Linked DNA regions of Homo sapiens: region 2 is linked to region 1. The links are contacts of gene promoters, found by promoter capture Hi-C in blood cells and fetal thymus (Javierre and others, 2016). All regions are on one chromosome and are shown on one strand. Each heading gives the region's core, a stretch centred on a gene start or on the middle of the fragment in contact. The rest is flanking DNA. Distances are from core to core; before and after follow the strand shown.

Region 1 (2,966 bases), core at 467-2,966:
TCTATCTTTGGCCAAGGTCTCCTATTTAAAGAAGGCTCATAAATATGAAAGGCTGCCTGAGGTAATTCCTATGCCGGGAAAGAACAAAGTTCCCATAATACTGCCCTCTCTAGTATCAAACCCGGTGCATGCGACTTCTCGAACCTGTGATTGACCAGTGACCGCCAGCCTCTATGGAACAATGAAGCCTCTTGTGCAAGACAGTGGCAGGAAACGCTGTGCTTGGGACAGTTTTCTTCCTCTCCTACACACACACACACACACACACACCCTTTTTTTTTTTTTTTTTTGATACAGAGTCTCGCTCTGTCACCCAGGTTGGAGTGCAGTGGCTCGATCTCGGCTCATTGCAACCACCGCCTCCCGGGTTCAAGCGATTCTCCTGCCTCAGCCTCCTGAGTAGCTGGGATCCCAGGCGCCTACCACCACGCCCGGCTAATTTTCGTATTTTTTAGCAGAGACGGGGTTTCACCATGTCGGTCCGGCTGGTCTCAAACTCCTGACCTCGTGATCCGCCCGCCTCGGCCTCCAAAAGTGCTGGGATTACAGGCGTGAGCCACCGCGCCCGGCCACACACCCCTTTTTACACCTAACGCCAGGGATTCCGGTTTCCCCTCCTCTGGTGTAAAACAAAATCAACTTTTCCCCTTCCGAGTCTTCCCTCCTGAGCTCTTCACTTGCTTATCACTGAAGGGGCAAATTCCAGAGGAACCCAAGAAGACCCCGGACTTCTGATCTAATTGGTTACTTTAAGGTAAAAAATAAAAAGATTCCAAACTCCGCTTCTGAATCCCCCAGGGGTGTTAAAGAACAAACACAATTGCTACCTTTTTCTGCAGAAGTGTAACGCTTCCTCCCAATCCCTTAATCTTACAGACACGGCTGCGCGGAAGCCGCATCTGAAGGTTCCTCCCCAGACCCGGGCCCCGGCGGGGTCGAAGTTGGCTCCCTCCGGGCGCCCGGTCCGCCGGGACAGCTCGAACCCCAGCCAGCCTCTCCGAGGGACCCCCAGGGCGCTGCGGGCGGGAAGGGGGCGCCAGGCGGCCGCGGCCAGGGAGCAGGTGGCCGCCCGGGGCTGGGGCCCCGCGCTGTGCCCACCTAGACCCCGTCGGAAGCCCCAGGGTGTCAACTCCGAGGCCCCTCCCCAGCATCCCGCTCGTCCCCGGGGGCGGTCCGAGTCCCAGACATCGGAGACCTCCCGGGACCCCGGGGCTGGACCGGCCACAGGGTCCGGGCTGCGGGGCCGGCCCGCGTCTGTCTGGTCCCCGGGTCCCCCAGCCCGCGCCGGGAGCACTCACGTATCTGTGCACGAGCGTCCGCACGAGGCTGCAGTCCATGGCTCCTCCGGCCGCTCCCGCTCCGCCGTTCAGCGCCCCCGCGCCCGGCTCGGCGCGCCCATGGGCTCCGGGGTACTAGTGCGGCCGCGCCCCCCGCTCCGGTCACGGCCTCGGCGCGCCGGGCGGTGCAGGGGGCGGCCGCGGCCCCTCCGCGCTCATGCCCGGCCCGGCCGGCGAATGCTGGGTCCGCGGCCCCGCGCGTCGGCAGCTGCTCCACTGGCGGCAAGGCTGCTGCTCGGGGCCGCGCGCGCGCGCTCTGGCGCCTTCTCTCTCCCCGTCGGTCCGCCCGCTCGGTTGGGCTCGGCTGGAGCACCCCGGCCGCGGCGGAGCCTGCGCTCTGCTCCTCCCGAGTCTCCTCCTCCCCTGCCCGCCGCCCTCTGGAGCCTCCGGGCCCCGCTGGCTCCTGCCCCTGCTCCGGGCGCGCACGTCACCGGCGCAAGTGAGCATGCGCCCCGCGGCCGCAGCCCCCGCCGGCCCCGCGCCCACACCCGCGCTCGCACCCGCGCGCCGGCCCTGCCCCCTCGCGCCTCCGCCCGGGCCCCAGACCCTGGGGGCAGAGGGCAGAGGGCAGAGGTCAGAGGCCGCGGGGAGGAACCCCCCTGTTGCTTCCGCCTCCCGGGGCGCAGGCGCTGGGCGCGGCGGGGAAGGGACTCGGCACTGGGGAAACCCGGAGTTTCAGCCAGGGTCCCAGGGCTTCCTTCCCGGGTTCCTGCCGGAAAACTTTTCTCCTCCGCCCGGAAGCCTCGATGGGGCAGTGAGATCGCGGGGCGAGGTGGGAGTGTGGGAGGGGGCCGCGGGCAGAGAGCGGGAGTCCGGCTGGGTGGGAGATCTCCTGAGCCGAAGCTGGGTCTCGCCCCAGCGTGGCGCCACCGACCCGCAGGCTTTTCCTGCTCTGCAGATGGAGAGACACAGGGACGCTCCTCAGGTGGCTGCCCTGGGCTGCCAGCCTGTCAGTGGGAGGGGAGGGTGCAGACAAGAGGCCCCTGTTTCCGAAACCCCTCTGTCCCCAAAGCTGCGACAGCAGAAGACACTTAGGCGGCCTGAGGGGTTGGTGAACCACAGAGGAGCTCAGCTTCGCCTGGTCTCCAGCTCCCGGTGGCGGTGGCGTGTCCTTAATGCTGCTGGCTTTGAACTGGACTGAGAACTATTTACCACACAAACACCACCATTTCAATCCCGGAGAATGCCTGTTTTCCCTAGGGTGACCTGGCCGGGGTAACAAACACTTGTTCTCTAATTCCACGGTCAGCCTTGACTTAATTGAGGTACTTGATTTCCAACTTCCTGTCTTGCTGCCACAGATAATCACTGATGAAACCAAACAGGCAACACCTTTTGGTGGCCTGTGGAGAGCGCTGCCCCGTCTGGGTCTTAGGAAGGCAATTGAATATGAATGTTCTCCCGAGTGCTTGTGGAAAAGAGATGGTGTTGGCCACTTTTTAGACGAAGAGAAATGAGTACTAGTGAACACTAATCATAGTGACTAAACAGTAAACGGCTCCCATTTGTTGTCGGCTAAAGCACTGATTCTTCATTTTCCATCCCAGCCTGTCCTGCTCTGGCCTGCCCTGTGCTCAGGAAGCTGGCGGTCCCCCTCAGTGGATCTTCACCCACAGGGACAACCTGCTG
Region 2 (2,966 bases), core at 382-2,881, 800 kb before region 1:
AGCTGAGAGGTGGGAAACCGAGACCGTGGAAGGAAGGAGTAATAAACGTAGAGTCCGTGGAATTTGGCCACTAGGAGATCACCAGTCACAAGTAGCTATCCCAAAAAAGGCAACAAAACCAACACCTACCACTTACGCAGATTTACAGTTTAAAGTAAACAACAACAAAATATTAACCTAACCATTCTTCATAGCAGCATCCAATGGACTGTTACTCAGGAATTCCTACTCAACCATCACATATTACAAAGATTCCCCGACCTGGAAACCTGGTTACTAAAAGATGTATCTATATATCTATACTTTCATTTCACTGCTAACCCAAATTCTAATTGGTTTAATCGAGTTTCCCAGGCAAAGTAGGTTAGATGCAGCAAAAGTAAGGGCAGCATTTCTGGAGGCAGCATTCTGCCCAAACCATGAAATGGCAGCCACAGAAAGAGACAAACCTTATGCAAAACAAACAGGAGAACTAAAAAAGCCTGGAGGCCAGATGACTCGGTGAAGGCTCAGCGACTGTCTGCACCCCAGCAGGTCCTGAAGACAGTACTGTGTTAGACAACAGTACTGATCAGAATTACAAGCAAAAGTCACCAAGAAAAGACTATATTCTGGTTAGAAAGTGTTCAATTCAAAACATTCTTGGAGACTGACTCCCAAAAGGAGAAGCACACTCCACAGAGAATTCACTTACCTAGAACAGGTAACTTCCTAACAAGATAGGATAAATGATAATGTGCTGTTCCAATCACTCAATTTTATGTTAGTTTCAATACAACTTTAAGTACACGTGTACAACTTTAAGTACACATTTACCACCTTAAAAACAAACAATGAGGCAATCACTTAGTCATGCCTAGCCATATAGCTGAGCTGTTATTTTAATGACTCACTCAACTGCTAAGCTTCTCTCGGTTGGTCCAACGGAGCTAAATAAATCAACAGCTACTTCACAAGTGAACTTTTAGTATTTTCCAGAACCAAGACAGAAATCTGAGATGCTTTGCTTACACTTCCCAGTTTCCCCAAAAGATCCCAAAAAGTGATTCTTTGATGGATTTTATGCTTCAGAAAAATAAGTTTCAACACAGCTCATGTGTGAATGACACCTCTATGTTCATTTCTGGTTCCTTCCTCAATCAGGTTCCTAAAATTAGTTGTCCCTCTAAGGGAGCTATAATTTTTATGAGAAACCTTTGAGGATTTTAGTTGTAGTTATACTAAAATTTCCCACTGAAACATACTCATAACATGAAACTGAAATTATTTATGGACCCTTAAAATACAAATCACCTTTATTCAAACTCATTTCATTTTATCTTCAAACTTGCCTCCAAAATCCTACTGACTACTAAATTGTAGCATGTTTTTTGAGCAAATTAGTAAACATCTTTAGCTGTTCTAGTTATTAAAAAGACACTTTGGATTCCTGTAATGTGTTTTTTTTGTTGTTGTTGCTGTTTGAGACGGAGTTTTGCTCTTGTCACCCAGGCTGGAGTGCAGTGTTGTGATCTCAGCTCACTGCAACCTTTGCCTCCCGGGTTCAAGCAATTCTCCTGCCTCAGCCTCCCAAGTAGCTGGAATTACAGGCGCTCGCCACCACACCCAGCTAATTTTTGTATTTTTAGTAGAGACGGTGTTTTGCCATGTTGGCCAGGCTGGTCTCAAACTCCTGACCTCAGGTGATCCACCCACCTCAGCCTCCCAAAGTGCTGGGATTACTTTTTAAATAATGAATTCTTAGAATTTCTGCATCTTGAGCAATTGATACACATAACAATGCGGATGTATCTCAAGGCTGAGTGAAAAAAAATCTCAATTTTATTGAGAAGACACACAGGTGTAGATTCACACTCACTAGTGCATGTATAGTTGGTGCAATCTCAACAGGTCAGGGGATTTGATCAAAGAAAATTCCCCACATATACTATGGTTTTGCAAGGTGCTACCATTGGAGAAAACAGGGCAAAGGCACTCTGTAGGATTTCTCTGTATTACTCCTTACAACTTCATGTGATCTACAACCATCTCAAAATAAAAAGGTTTTCAAATTCTACCTAAGACCAGGTGCGGTGGTTAATGCCACTGCTGTATTACGACACAATTATCTGTATTCCCAGCGCTCTGGGAGGCTGAGGTGGGCGAACTGCTTGAGGTCAGGAGTTGGAGATCATCCTGGGCAACACAGCAAGACCCTGTCTCTATTAAAAATGAAATAATTAGCCGGGCGTGATGCTCCCTGTGGCCCCAGCTCCTGGGGAGGCTGAGGCGGGAGAATCGCTTGAGCCTTGACCAGCCACTGCACTCCAGCCTGGGCGACAGCAAAACTCTGTCTCAACAACCACAAAAAAGCTTTAGAATATTTAAGTCAAGCCTGTAGGAGAAAAAAACTACAAATATTTCACAAGTAATCCAATCATTAAGACACTCCTTTTGAAAAAGCCGGTAAATAAGATAAATTTGGAAGACAGAATAATCAGAAAAACAGGCAGTGAATAGGGACCCGATACGCAGCGGTCTTGCTTCCCCCGCGCAGGCGTCCACACCCTGGGTCATGGACACCGTGAGGAGCCGTTAGGAGTCACAGGAGGGGGGCCAGGGACAGGGCTGCATCTCTGCGGCCGGCCCTGGAGGCCCCGAGTCCACCCGGGCGGCCAGGGTGGGAACGCAGGTTCCATTCCAGGTTAGAACGTGGGCCTCAGCGAAGAGCGCCTAGGCAAGGCCTGGAGGAGCGGGACCCCAGGCCACACAGACCACCCGACCCCGGGAGACAATACCTGCAAGAAAAGGGGAGCCCCGAGGAGAGAGAGAGGGGAGGTGAGCCCCAGGGAGGGAGAGAGAGGAGGGGAGCCCCAGGGAGGGAGGGAAGGAAGGAAGGGGACCCCTGGGAAGGGAAGAAGGGAATGGGAGCCCCGGGGAGGGAGAGAGGGGAGCCCCAGGGAGGGAGGGAAGGAAGGAAGGGGACC

What was found. Contacts are between HindIII fragments. The CHiCAGO score rates a contact against its expected background, and 5 or more counts as called.
Region 2: a fragment that was not itself captured here is called in contact with the fragment with the promoter of ATP11A in region 1 in 1 of 17 cell types (monocytes); the score reaches 6.6 in monocytes.

Annotation. Positions count from the first base shown.
Region 1 is chr13:112,688,788-112,691,753 of GRCh38, reverse strand. ATP11A (ATPase phospholipid transporting 11A) reads right to left here and starts at 1,716. Exons shown (of 30, transcript NM_015205.3): 1 at 1,299-1,716. The coding sequence starts at 1,337. It overlaps LOC102725228 (a long non-coding RNA gene), which reads left to right and starts at 1,939. Exons shown (of 2, transcript NR_187633.1): 1 at 1,939-2,091; 2 at 2,885-2,966. RefSeq lists enhancers at 1-63, 2,362-2,879 and silencers at 924-1,163, 1,184-2,113. The HindIII fragment of the contact is 3,702 bases long and covers 1-2,966 here.
Region 2 is chr13:113,491,396-113,494,361 of GRCh38, reverse strand. All of the region lies in intron 1 of SLC9D1 (solute carrier family 9 member D1), which reads right to left. It also overlaps a transcript of DCUN1D2 not described here. Among named protein-coding and RNA genes, the nearest start is that of SLC9D1, 1.9 kb to the right of the region's middle. The HindIII fragment of the contact is 1,447 bases long and covers 908-2,354 here.